Regions from separate parts of the Homo sapiens genome. Here regions 1, 3, 4 and 5 are each linked to region 2. Evidence: promoter capture Hi-C in 16 types of primary human blood cells and fetal thymus (Javierre and others, 2016). All regions are on one chromosome and are shown on one strand. The core of a region is centred on a gene start or on the middle of the fragment in contact, and the rest is flanking DNA. Distances in the headings are between cores, read along the strand shown.

What was found. Contacts are between HindIII fragments. The CHiCAGO score rates a contact against its expected background, and 5 or more counts as called.
Region 1: a contact is called between a fragment that was not itself captured here and the fragment with the promoter of LINC02868 in region 2, in 8 of 17 cell types (megakaryocytes, erythroblasts, M2 macrophages and 5 more). The highest score is 15.3, in megakaryocytes.
Region 3: a contact is called between a fragment that was not itself captured here and the fragment with the promoter of LINC02868 in region 2, in 1 of 17 cell types (total CD4 T cells). The highest score is 5.1, in total CD4 T cells.
Region 4: a contact is called between a fragment that was not itself captured here and the fragment with the promoter of LINC02868 in region 2, in 3 of 17 cell types (non-activated CD4 T cells, activated CD4 T cells and naive B cells). The highest score is 5.2, in non-activated CD4 T cells.
Region 5: a fragment that was not itself captured here is called in contact with the fragment with the promoter of LINC02868 in region 2 in 6 of 17 cell types (activated CD4 T cells, fetal thymus, naive CD8 T cells and 3 more); the score reaches 7.1 in activated CD4 T cells.

The regions. Positions count from the first base shown.
Region 1 is chr1:117,053,349-117,056,048 of GRCh38, reverse strand. The region is part of intron 1 of CD101-AS1 (CD101 antisense RNA 1); the gene reads left to right. Among named protein-coding and RNA genes, the nearest start is that of CD101-AS1, 4.8 kb to the left of the region's middle. The HindIII fragment of the contact is 6,290 bases long and covers 1-2,700 here.
Region 2 is chr1:116,692,837-116,695,536 of GRCh38, reverse strand. LINC02868 (long intergenic non-protein coding RNA 2868) reads right to left here and starts at 1,425. Exons shown (of 4, transcript NR_149353.1): 1 at 1,340-1,425; 2 at 682-778. The HindIII fragment of the contact is 15,118 bases long and covers 781-2,700 here.
Region 3 is chr1:117,103,237-117,105,936 of GRCh38, reverse strand. TTF2 (transcription termination factor 2) reads right to left here. Exons shown (of 23, transcript NM_003594.4): 23 at 1-2,700. Among named protein-coding and RNA genes, the nearest start is that of MIR942, 9.9 kb to the right of the region's middle. The HindIII fragment of the contact is 5,602 bases long and covers 1-2,700 here.
Region 4 is chr1:117,034,256-117,036,955 of GRCh38, reverse strand. It overlaps CD101 (CD101 molecule), which reads right to left. Exons shown (of 10, transcript NM_001256106.3): 10 at 404-788. All of the region lies in intron 2 of CD101-AS1 (CD101 antisense RNA 1), which reads left to right. Among named protein-coding and RNA genes, the nearest start is that of CD101-AS1, 24 kb to the left of the region's middle. The HindIII fragment of the contact is 921 bases long and covers 922-1,842 here.
Region 5 is chr1:117,072,734-117,075,433 of GRCh38, reverse strand. TTF2 (transcription termination factor 2) reads right to left here. Exons shown (of 23, transcript NM_003594.4): 4 at 1,707-1,773; 5 at 1-564. Among named protein-coding and RNA genes, the nearest start is that of TTF2, 14 kb to the right of the region's middle. The HindIII fragment of the contact is 827 bases long and covers 1,010-1,836 here.

The DNA of each region.
Region 1 (2,700 bases), core at 105-2,604, 360 kb before region 2:
TTTTTCAGAACTTTCAATCCAGTTCTTGCCACTATAGTATTTTTTCTTCTTCTTCTTCTTCTTTTTTTTTTTGAGACGGAGTCTCGCTCTGTCGCCCAGGCTGGAGTGCAGTGGCGTGATCTCGGCTCACTGCAACCTCCACTTCCCAGGTTTAAGCAATTCTCCTGCCTCAGCCTCCCAAGTAGCTGGGATTACAGGCACCCACCACCACGCCCAGCAATTTTGTGTATTTTTAGTAGAGATGGGGTTTCGCCATGTTGGCCAGGCTGGTCTCGAACTCCTGAGACCTCAGGTGATCCACCTGCCTCGGCCTCCCAAAGTGCTGGGATTACAGGCCTGAGCCACTGCGCCCAGCCTATAGTATTTTTATAAAGCATAAATTATTCAGCAATGCATTCAGATATTTAACCCACACATCGGTAAGTGTTTAGGTATTTGCTGTGGTGTAGAGACATGGCTCAACAAATCCAAGACAAAAACCAAAAACCCAAGTCCTGCCATTTTATAAATGACCACTAGGTAGCAGCCTAGTAACATAAAAACCAAACTGAGGCCCACCCTCCTCTGTTTCATTCTTTTTGTTTGAAGATATATAATGGTAATTCAATTTCATTTCATTTCATTTTGTGCCTTTCAAACATATGACTGTTTTCAACTTGTCCTTTGACATAGGCTCGATCAGGATGATACTATAGTGAGAACAAATGTGGTTATAATTTGTAAAGCCAAGAGACTTTACAAATTATTTTGTTATACCAATATTTTTTCAGTACTAGATTCCAAATTTCACTGTTCTTAAAATATTATTCCAAAAGTGGTTCAATGCAGGCTCTTTATCTTCTTCTTTTTTTTTTTTTTTTTTTTTGGTAAATGTACAGGTATTTTTTTCAGTTGGAGTCTTGTCTGTTACCCAGGCTGGAGTGGAGTGCAATGGTAGGATCTTGGCTCACTGCAACCTCCGCCTCCTGGGTTCAAGTGATTCTCCTGCCTCAGCCTCCTGAGTAGCTGGGATTATAGGCTTGTGCCACCACGCTCAGCTAATTTTTGTATTTTTAGTAGAGATGGGGTTTCACCATGTTGTCCAGGCTGGTCTTGAACTCCTGAACTCAGGTGATCCACTCGCCTCGACCCCCCAAAGTGCTGGGATTACAGGCTTGAGCCATCGCGCCCGGCCACAATTCTTTTTTTTTTTTTTTTGAGACAGAGTCTCACTCTGTTGCCAGGCTGGAGTACAGTGGCATGATCTTGGCTCACTGTAACCTCTGCCTCCTGGGTTCAAGTGACTCTCCTGCCTCAGCCTCCCGAGTAGCTGGGATTACAGGTGCCCGCCACCACGCCTGGCCAATTTTTGTATTTTTAGTAGAGATGGGGTTTCACCCTGTTGGCCAGGCTGGTCTCGAACTCCTGAACTCAGGTGATCCACCCGCCTCGGCCTCCCAAAGTGCTGGGATTACAGGCATGAGCCATCACACCTGGCCCACAATTCATTGTTTAAGTAAATTTATAAAGTTGTGCCATCACCACCAGAATCCAGTTTTAAAACATTTCTATCACTCAAAAACTTTCCTCAAAGCTGTGTGCAGTCAATCCCAACTGCCACCCCCAGCTAGTCCCAAGGCAACCTCTGATATGCTTTCTGTCTTTATAAGTTTGCCTTTTCTGGACATTTCATATAATGGAGTCATGTAATATGTAGTCTCTTGCCTCTGTCTTCTTTCACTTACATAATGCTTGTGAGGTTTACCCATGTTGCACATGTATCAGTATTTCACTCCTTTTTATTGCTGAGTAATATTCCATTGTGTTCATTCACCAGTTGGTGGACATTTGGATCATTTTCCCTTTGGAATTATTAGGAATAATATTGCTATGAACATTAATGTTAAAGTCTGTTTTATTGTTTTTGTTTTTGTTTTTTTGTTTTTTGTTGTTGTTGTTTTTGAGATGGAGTCTTGCTCTGTCACCCAAGCTGGAGTGCAGTGGCATGATCTTGGCTCACTGCAACCTCCAGCTCCCAGGTTCAAGCAATTCTCCTGCCTCAGCCTCCCGAGTAGCTGGGATTATAGGCTCGAGCCACCACGTAAGCTAATTTTTATATTTTTAGTAGGGACAGGGTTTCACCATGTTGGCCAAGCTGGTCTCAAACTCCTGACCTCAGGTAATCTATCTGCCTCAGCCTCCCTAAGTACTGGGATTACAGGCATGAGCCACCGCACCCGGCCTAACGTTAAAGTCTTTATATGAACATTTGTTCTCATTTCTCTTGGGCAGATAAACCTGTGAGTGGAATTGCTAGTTCATATGGTTAGTTTGTTTAACTTTTTAAGAAATTGCCAAACCACTTTCCAAAGTGGCTATACCATTTTATATTTCCACCAGCAACGTATGAGGGTTCCCAGTTCTTCATGTCCTCAACAATGCTTGTTATTGCGTGCCTTTTTTAGTAGGTATGAAGTGGTATCTGACTTTTGTTTGAATTTTGATTTTTCTATTGATGTGGCACTCTTTTTCGTGTGCTTTTTAGCCATCATCTTCCTCTTTTTAAATGGTCTTGAAAGTCTTTTTCCTTTAACGTTTGTATGGAACTTAAACCTAAGTTAAAATGACATTAATTGTTATTAATACAAAGACATAAAAAGACATAGTAATCATTTGTATAATGTTAAGTAACAAACATTATACAATGTACTATGTACTATG
Region 2 (2,700 bases), core at 176-2,675:
TTCTTGGTCCAACCACTTCACCTCTCTGGGCCTCTGTTTTCTCATCTGCAAAATGAAGCAGTTGACCTAATAGCCTCCAAAGTTTCTTTCATGCTGATATTCTATAGCAGGCTGGGGCTAAATTTAGATTTAGATTTGTCCAAATGATGGAATGACCTCTTTTCCCATCACTTCCCAGATGTCTACCTGGATTCTGGAGCTCCAGGAAAGAACCCCCCTGTGTTCACAATGGCGGTCCCTGGTGCCTGCAGAACTTAGGACAGGGAATTGGGGAGGTGGGGTGGTTAGGGACAAAACCCAAATATGGACTCCTTAAGAGAAATTTCAACCTTAAAAAGAAAGGAATCTGTCCCAGGCAGCAGCACAGTTGCAATTCAGAGGAAGCTGCGGTTCCGAGTGTAGGGTGGTGGACTCTACTGTAATCAGCCCACCCTAATCAGCCACCCTGAAGTCAAGCAGACATCTGGGGTGTCTCACCAATCTCCCAGCCCCTAGAATGCCAAACAACCCTGCTCTGAGGCCCTGTAATATTATCACATGGGGGTCAGGGAGCTACTCTCCTTCAATACTTCCAAGCAAACTGCCTAGAGCCAAAAGTCCAGGAAGACTAAGCACTTTGCAGATTTGAGTGAGAAATCCCCAGGGACTTCCATAGAAACTGGGAGTCTCAGAAATACCTACCAGGTTGGTTTCCTGAGGCAGTGAGCCAGGGAAGGAGGACTGATGGTGATGTTGCCTCATTTGGATACTCCATGAGCCTACGCAAGTTTCACAAAAGCTTCAAAGGAAAACAAAATATCAAATGAATCCAGTAACAACATTCTGGGGAAAAGGCTACCTGGAAGAGGGACAAAAAGGGATGAGTTTCCAGAGGAAGCCTAGGGAGGATGCCTGATGTCACTGCTGACAGAGGAAGCAGGAGGACTCAGCGCTCTCTGGACTGACCAGGCTGTGATGGGTGTGGCAGGCCAGAACTGGACAGGATCATTAAAACCCTCGGAGAGGTTTTCACTGCAAGAAAGAAGAGCTACCAGGCCTGGAGGGGAATAAGATTGGGGACCCAGGCTGCCAGTGAACTTATGCCCACCCAGAAACTCAGCCGCAGAAAAGTGGTAGGGATTATTACACCAAACTGAGAATTACAGTCTCTGCCTCCTCAGCCCCTGGCAGAGCTGCCACACATGGCAGCAGCACTGTCCTGCCTCCAGGTGAAATAGGAGCCACTGGGATCACCCACCACGCTGCAGGAGCTATGAGGCGTACAGGAGCATGGGGAAGGGATATCAACACACATAAACAAAGTAGTTCCATCCTTGCCTTATGTCTGTCTTTTTTATACCTCCGTAGATGTGGCCAACAAAATTGCTCCATAAATTGGACACTGCCCAAAGAAGTCTTTAACGCCATTCCTGGGTTCTTTGTCAAAACCATGGTGGCTTTTCCTGTCTTCACAGAGCTAAGCCCATTGTTTTGTGGTCCCTGCAGCTGTACCTCTGACCTGGGTGGAGCTGCATGTCTAGGCAGGAGAGGCTTGGGAAGCTAGAGTTGTTGCTGGTGATCTGTTTTCAGCTTGGGGCAGGAGCCAGGCTGGGTGCCAGAAGCAACTTTTGATTAGTCATTAGGCACAGACTTTGCTTCAGCCACACAGCCACCTCATTCCTGCCTCAGGGCCTTTGCACTTGCTGTTGGCTCTGCTTGGAGTCCTCTCTCTTGATCTGCACTGGACTTGTTGCTCCCTACTTCATCAAATGTTACCTTCTCAGAGGACCTTCCATGTCCGCCTCCAGTGCAGGCCCTGTTCACACTCTGTCCACTGCTCTGCTGATTTCCTTATGATAGTTACGGCACTCTACAAGGATCTTGTTTATTTGTTTACATGGCCACCGTCTCTTTCCCTACGGGAACGTCTGGAACCTTAGCTCCACCAGGGTCATCTGAAGGCTCCCAGGGTGACCCACACAGACCAGACCCCAGCCTGCACCCCAGGAGGCTCCTGCTCCCCACATACACAGAGCTCACCTCAGCCTTACCTCGCAGATGAGGAAGACTTTGGTGCCCACACAAATGCCCATGTGTGCCACGGCCCAGACAGCAGTGTTCATGCCTGCGAGAGGTCAGGGCAAGCCTATCAGTCCCATGCTGAGATGCGAGGCCCTGGACGCCTCCCCACCTCAGAGGGTGAAGGGGGGAGGCCTGGACACCCTCTCCATCTCAAAGGGCAGGGGGTGAGGGGAAGGTCTGGCAGGGGAGGGATCTTGTCTCTCATGTTCACTACTGTCCACAACCTCCAGCACAATGCTGGGTATATGATAGATAATATCTGTTGAATGAATAAATGAATAAATGCACACAGCAGCAAGCTGTGTGGCTGCTTATCCAATATAACTGTATCCCTGCGCTTCTCCCTTCCTAACATAACTTCAGTCTGCTTGGCAACATGTCCTATTCATGACCACGTGTTTGCCCTAAGCTGTTCATAGTATTCCCTCTTTCCCTGTGCTAATAACTGATTTTTCAAAAGGACCCATGACTTAGTTCTGACCAAAACCATGAGCAGAAGTCTACTAGGTAGGGCCGGGGGTTCTAAAAGAGGTTTTCCCCTTTGTAAAAAGAGAAGCAGGCACTGTCATATTATCTGGATTAGATCTGCTTAGTACAGCTGTGCCTCACTTCTCACTCTGAGGAGAGTTACCGTGAGGA
Region 3 (2,700 bases), core at 51-2,550, 410 kb before region 2:
GCTTCACCTTTGAGCCCTGCTAAAAGCCATTTCATTGAGCAACAGACAATCAGAGCAAGGAAACAACTCAGTGTTCATGAATTGCCATGCTAAATCACTCACAGGATTGATAGAGAAATAAGTCACCTCCCATAAACAGAAAATTTTTTTTTTCTGTTTTTCCTTCTTTTCATTAGCAATTGTTCCAAAAACACTTACTCTGCTAATTTCTGCTAGAAAGAATCACCGTTCTTTCTCTGTGGCCCAGGCTGGAGTGCAGTGGTATGATCTCAGCTCACTGTAACCTCCGCCTCCTGGATTCAAGTGATTCTCCTGCCTCAGCCTCCCGAGTAGCTGCAATTACAGGCACCCAACATCACGCCTGGCTAACTTTTGTATTTTTAGTAGAGAGGAGGTTTTGCCATGTTGGCCAGTCTGGTCTCGAACTCTTGGCCTCAAGTGATCTGCCTGCCTCAGCCTCCCAAATGCTGGGATTACAGGTGTGAACCACTGCGCTGGGCCTGCAATGGGAGTCACTGACAAGGTTTTTAAAGGGCCCAGGACTCTGTCTAGCTGCGGCATGCACAATACTCCTATTTGATCAACATGGCTAAGGCAAAGTCAAACTACATACCTTCCATGAAGTCAATTCTGTCGAGTAAGAAATGCCTTATAAATCCGGTGCTCAGGAATGTTGCACTTTGGAGACAGATGTTCACCATCTGGTTCTCAGCTGCACCCATGCTGCTGCTGGTTCTCATATTCCCAGACCTTGTCCCACAGCAATAACACTAGCACTTGTGTGGCCCTTCATGGTTTTCAAAGCATTTATTACCTCATATCATCCATGCCCAAGTCAGGTGCAATAGGCAGATGTAAAAAGCAAATCCAGCAGCAGTATTGTGACATGAAGGAAGGCTGGTTAACACAGGCAGGACTCATAGTGCAGCACCTCAATTAGACCACTGTGTTGTGGGATGCTGCCCATCGCTAGAAGGTGCAAAGACCCACCTTGTCATACCTAGACTTGACGAAACTGATTTACACTAAAATGAATATGAGGCTGAGACAGATACCAGAATGCCACTTCTGTTAATTCATGCCTGTCTCCCTTAGATGCTAAGCCTCATGAGGACAAAACAAAAAAAACCAAACAAACCCAGCCTAACCCCCAGGGAGGGAAGAGGGGAGACACATATGCAGCTCCACAATGTAATTCATGTAATCCATCCCAGCACTAGGATTTAAGAATGCATGTTTAGTATATTCCATCCCATTAAGGCAGTGGTTCCATTTTTTTCTGCATCCACCTCAAGTCAGTAGCATCTCACGGCTATAAGAACACCTACCCAAGACATAACTAGGTTGCTTTGCTTATGTACAATAACATGAGAAATTAGAAAAGCTGTTTTAAAATACCAGGAGGCATCTACCTTACAGTAGATTACTTGTCAATGGCCTCAATATCTGAAGATTTTAAGTTACAATCCCTGCATCCCTCTCCAAACTAAAAGCCAGAATGCTTGAACCTGAAAGAATTCCTCTCCCCTAAACAATGCTTGATTGGAGACTGACAATGTTCATCTAATACCTTCTAGTTGACATTACTGATCTATCTGGTCAACCATGTTGTAGTATATATATTTGCTATGAAATTCCCAGTGGAGCATGAGATACATGCTAATCCACACATTTTACAGATGAAAGGATTGAGATGTCCAAGGAATCTGCAACTTGCCTAATATCAATCAGCAAATGGCAGAGCCAGGTTTGTACATTCTTGCTGGCCTGGGAGCCACTGCTTCTCAGGTGACTCAATCTTTACCTTGGTATGTCAATCTTATAGCAAAACTTCAAAAAGGCAATGTTACTTCCTTTGCTTCTTGATTTTATCAGAAACCTTATTGCTGCTAAGTTCTGAAAACTGCCCACCTTACAAATGAGGAAATCAGAGTGTAGAGAAAGTAAGGATTTTTTTCTCTCTCTTTTTTTTTTTTTTTTTTTTTGAGACGGAGTCTCGCTCTGTCACCAGGCTGGAGTGCAATGGCGCGATCTCAGCTCACTGCAACCTCCACCTCCCAGGTTCAAGCGATTCTCCTGCCTTATCCTCCCCAGTAGCTGGGACTACAGGCGCACGCCACCACGCTCAGCTAATTTTTGTATTTTTAGTAGAGACGGGGTTTCACCATGTTGGCCAAGATGGTCTTGATCTCTTGACCTCGTGATCCGTCTGCCTCGGCCTCCCAAAGTGCTGGGATGACAGGCCTGAGCCACTGCACCCGGCCAATTTTTTCAACGTTACACACCCAGCTAAGATGAACCTAGAACTAGAGTCAAATCTCAAACGTTCTAGACTAGAATTCTTCCCACCAGGCCATTGTCTTTACCTTTGTAAGCCTTTAAATCTTGTCCTTATAGAAAACTTCTGCTTAAATAGGCTCCGAATGCCTCAGTCCACACTCTGACTGGGTTAACATAGGGTCTTGTTTCCCAACTCAAGGGACAGAAATGTTTCTGTGTTAGAAGAACTGTGATTCTTTCTAGCAGAAATTAGCAGAGTAAGTGTTTTTGGAACAATTGCTAATGAGAAGGAAATCTGAATAGTTTCCTGAAGTATAAAATCTCAAGTGTTTGTTTAGGGTACAAACTGCTATGTAAACAACACAGAAATCTCAGTAGCTTAAAAAAAAAGATTCCTTGATCATGTCATAGTCCAGTGTA
Region 4 (2,700 bases), core at 133-2,632, 340 kb before region 2:
TAAAATGTCTGCTGAACTGGATCAGGGCAAATTTTATTCTGTAAATTTAAAAAGAAGAAAATACTGTGGGGGTGTTTTAGTTTTGGAGGATTTTAGTTGCCTATGGGACAAAGAGTGCCATGTGGCTGCTTAGACTATCAAAGGTGCTCTAAGTCCCATTAATGAAAGCAGAGCATCCAGGACAAACAAGGTGAGCATCCCAGGGGCATGGGGCTGTGTCTGAGTCACCACAGGGCCCCTTGCTCCTAGCACAGGGCCTGACATGCAGCAGGTACCCACTGGGAACTCACACTTCCCATGCTGTGCTCTGGCCGGAACCGTTTCATATTTGAGGGTCTCTGTTCCCTGAAAAAAACCAGCGTTTGTTTGCCTGGCGAGTAACAAATAACTCTCCACAAGAACATGAGTTTTGATGAAAAGGAGTTTTTTTTTTTTTTTACTTGTCACAAGCAAGGAGAGCGCTGGGAATACTCTCCAAAGCGGTGTCTCTGAAGGAAAGTGACAGGAGGGTTTTATGGGGTGATGGAGAGGGGAGAGAGTGCATTGGTGCATGTAGGGGAGGGGTCCCAGTGGCGCAGCCGCAGTGAGTCGTCCTGCCAGCACACAGGTCACATGTTACGGTCATGAAGCTATAGCTCCCCCTGGGGTAGTGACTTCAGGATGGTAATGAGGAAAGTTCACTTGGGTTCATCTAGAAGTTGCCGGGGTCTGTCAGGAGCTGGTTCCAGGTGACTAGGTCACCACATTCCACACGGGGCTTGGGAAGAAACAGGCAGCAAGGCAGGAAGCTGTAAAACAAGCTGATTGCTCAAGTTGGTTAAATGTCTGCTTTCCCAGGAGACCCTCCCTGTCTGCTTACATCTCCTCTGTGCTATCTCTGTGCTGGATTCAAAAGGGGAAGAGGTGTTTGAGCTAGAAGCTTGAAGGAGGTGTCCATGTGAGCAGAGAGGAGGGATGGGGTGAAGAGTGCTCCCACAGAGGGCTGCAGCAGAGTCCATCCAAGATTCTCTGCCCAGGCTCACTTCTGCTCTCTTTCCCTTTGAATTAAAATACAGGTTTCTAAAAAATAGGGGCAGGGGGTCATCACACTTTCTAAGAGTCTTCTGCCGGGCGTGGTGGCTCACGCCTGTAATCCCAGCACTTTGGGAGGCCGAGGCGGGTGGATCATGAAGTCAGGAGATCGAGACCATCCTGGCTAACACGGTGAAACCCCGTCTCTACTAAAAATACAAAAAAAAATTAGCCAGGCATGGTGGCGGGTGCCTGTAGTCCCAGCTACTTGGGAGGCTGAGGCAGGAGGATGGCGTGAACCCGGGAGGCGGAGCTTGCAGTGAGCCCAGGTCACACCACTGCACTCCAGCCCGGGCGACAGAGCGAGACTTCATCTCAAAAAAAAAAAAAAAAAAGTCTTCATTTCAGCTTTGTTGTTTGTAAAAATATGCTCCCTTACCTGGATGACAAGAAACAAATGTGCTGACATGTTTAAGGAAAGATTTGGAGTATTTTAAATCAGGCTATGAAGGGACATGAGTTTAAGGAACTGGTAGGTCCATAGTAGGAGTGCTCATAGCCACCAATAATCCCCTTAGGAAGGAACTAATTATGTTTGGAGAGGACGTGTGTGCCTGATCAAATAATTAAAACTAAATTGCTCTCCTTGGAAATGCAAATTAACGAGTGTTAAAGCAACTCGGTTGGTCACATAGATAATAAATAGATGTGTTTTCTCAAGTCTTTAGGTGGCACTGATTGATTTCCAATTCTGGCTACAACAGGGCCTGAGCGGCTTTTGAAACAAAGATGAGGGGACTGTAGGCCCAGTGGGGACAGCTGTTGAAAGCTTTAAGCCATTACACCCCACCCCCACCGGCTGCTTTTTGCTACTGAGAATAGGAGACCTTGAGGAACCAGACTTGACCTACTGCTGCCCCAAACCCCAGCCCTGCAGGCGTATGAGGGAACGGTGGCACTGTCAACCCTGCTCCTCCAGACAATACCTTCCCTACCACCCAGTGCTGTCAGGTCAAAGAAAATAAGGCACTGGCTGAGCACCAGGAGCCAGATGGACCTTTTGGTGGGGATATGGAGGTGTAGGGGGAAGCAGGGGTACGAGGCCTTGGGGGGCTGACTGGAGTACTGTTACATGAGTTTTTACAAAGTTTTTGCTCAGCAATTACTTAATAAAAAGTCTTATCAAACAATAAACAAAAAGCCCCAAACTCAGGTTACAAATGTTTTATCATTTTGTCAAAGAACCTGTATTAGTTAAGCACCTTTACACAGAACTTGCTCTTGAGTGGGCCTTTGTAGGTGGGCTGGGAGAAGAAAATTGAATTTCTGCCTCGAAGGAAGTTACATTCTTGTTGTGGGGACAGATTTTAGGTAAACAAAGAGCATGTTACCAATTCCTTTTTCCTTGCTGGCATCAGGTCCTTTCCTACACCTCTCATCTGGAGGAAAATGATTACCTAGAGCAGGTGTGACAAGTGACATAAGAGGGAGAGAGAAGCCCCACCAGGGCATTGCTGTAGGATCTCATTTAGCCCTCCAGAGGCTGTGTGAGGGAGCCTCTTATCTCCTTGCAGCCCAGGGACCTGAACCTTCAAGAGATGTAGGGTAATGATGCTATCTTGTTCCAAGGGGGGATGCGAGAGGTGGATGAGGTAAGACACAAAGGAACACCTAACAGTGCGTAGAACC
Region 5 (2,700 bases), core at 174-2,673, 380 kb before region 2:
CTTGTTGAGGGGTCCCCCTTTCTGGGGCTTGCTTATTGAGTTGTGACTGTGAACATTTTGAGGCAAAAGCTGGGTAACCTTTTCTCTCAGAGGTTCTGATTCTCTTTGGACATCTTGACTCTTACCACTTGATTTCTCCTGAGAAGATGCAGATGGTCTTGTAAGCTCATTACCTTGGCACTGTTGAGATTTAATTTCAGAAAAGTCTCTTTTGTGTGTGCCTCCAGTCTCTGCCTCACACTGAATCTCTGCTCCCTCTTCTTGCTTCTTCTCTTGAACTACAGATTGTTTTTTCTTTGGTACCAGGCCAGATGAGAGGTCTTTCTCCATCATTTCAGGCTTCTGTTCTTTCTTTTGATCGAAAAGCTGATCTCCCTTTTCTCTTTGCTTCTTATCAGCCTTCTTTTCCTCACCTTCACCTTTGATGAGCTGTTTCCAGAGAGCTGGTTCTTGATTCTTGTCAAGTACCTTGAATGGATTTCTCAGCCAGTTGGAAGAATGATGAAATGTCTCAGATGCATGCTGAGACTTATTGGATACAGAATGTTCTTTGGAATCAGGATCCTAAAGACAAAATAATTAATCTTCATATAAAATATTAATACAAACTTCGTATCTAGAATGCCTTTCCTTTTCATCTCAACTTTTATTTTATATACAGGGGGTACATATGCAGCTTTGTTATATGAGTATATTGCACTCAGGCAGTGAGCATAGTGCCCAATAGATAGTTTCTTAACCCATGCCCTCCTCCCCTCTCCAGTAGTTCACAGTATCTATTGTTCCCATGTTTATGGGTGCTCAATGTTTAGCTCCTGCTCGTGAGAACATATGATATTTGGTTTTCTGTTCCTGCATTAATTCACTTAGGATTATTCTGCAGAAGAAATGGAAACACAGTAAAAGCAGTCCAATATTTCCTGAACATTCTTGGTACCATTTCCACGTCTAGAAAAGATGACGTGCCAAACCCACAAAGGACTCATTTCTTCACGATACTTTCGAAGCTTGGTTCCTTCTCTGTCCATGATCACTCTTTTCCAGGCCTCAAGGAAAAGTAGTGACAAACCAAAGTGCTTTTACAATCACAATGGCCACAGTGTATACTTTTCAGGAAAAAAACTATTCTCTTAAGATGAACTTTTCCCCAAACCTAAACATTGTCTTAAAACACTTGCTTTGATTTTGGCTTTAGGAGGATTTTACTGTGGTAATCTAGAATCGTAAGTTCAAGCCACACCTCTGCCAAAACAAGTCTTATCACCTCCCTACTTCTAGTTCCTCACGTACTGAATATCTGTAGGGCTTCTCCTATTAGGAGATGCTCCTCCTAGTTCTAACATACTAGGAGCTTATGCTTATACTTAGCTTATACCAGTATCAAGTAGAAATTCCTCTATAAAAAGATACAAGAGTTAGTCAAGGAAATCTATTTTTTTCCTTGAGTAAAAGAATACTGACTACATTTAAGACCTCAAAAAATATTTACTAAGTGAAATAGGATGCAAATAATTAATCTTGATTACGACTAAATGATCCTTTGAATAAAAGTCCCAACAGGGCCTACCTTGCTTAAAGAAAACTATCTTTCGGAGACAGTCTGATGAAGACCAACTCATTTACGTGAACTTCAAGGTATTTTCAGGTGATGCTGCATATTAAAAGTCTTAACACAGCAGGTTTGAAAACAGATGAATAATTCCTACCTGCCATGGAATACTTCCACACCAGCGTTTCCCCTCTGCCTTACTTCTAATGCATCGGAAGAACAATCTAATGAAGTATAAAACACAAATAATCAAGGCTATGAAAATCCATTAGAACAAGAGATAAGCTTATTTTTAATCCAAGAAAACATCTTGCAACTATTTGAACCTGGCTTTGGGAGGTCACTTGAAACCAATTACTTTTATATACACATTTAAAAATTATTTACTGCACAGAACATTTATAAGGGCTAGGAAGTCCAAGAATAAATATGGCATGGTAGCCAGAGAATGCACACAGGTTTATTCTTTTTAGTCTGTAACGAATGACTGAAATAGAAACACTGATCAGCAATGGCTACTAAAATCAGAGAAATGAGAGACAGCCAGACACTGTGTGTCCCTGAAGGGGGGTCACAACACTAGCTACAAAGCAATGTTGCCCCAAAAAAAACCCCAAAACAACGAAGCCAAAACAAACAAAAAACTAACCTCTAGATCCAATTACCAATTTATAGGAAATAGAAACAACAGAAGAAGGCGTAAAACTATACTGTGGAGAATATAACCTTCAAAATCTTGGCAGTGGGAAACGCTATAGGACAAACAACCTGATCCCTTCCACAAATAAGTTACGAGGGAGAAAAAAAGATGAAGGGAAAACTTCAGAGACTTAAAAGACATATTAATCAATTCCAATTTGTGAACCTTATTTGGATCCTGATTTAAACAAATTAAAACTACTAAAAAAAAACTATGACATTTATGAGTCCACTGAAAATATGTAAACCAACTGGTATGTTAAAAGAGTGCAGCTGGATGCAGTGGCACACACCTATAGTCCCCTCTACTCAGGGGCCTGAGACAGGAGGATCATTTGAGGCCAGAGGCTGCAATGTGCTAAGATTGTGCCTGTGAATAGCCACTGCACTCAAACCTGGGCAACACAGCAAGACTCCCTTCTCTAAAACATACAAATATTTTTTAAAAAATA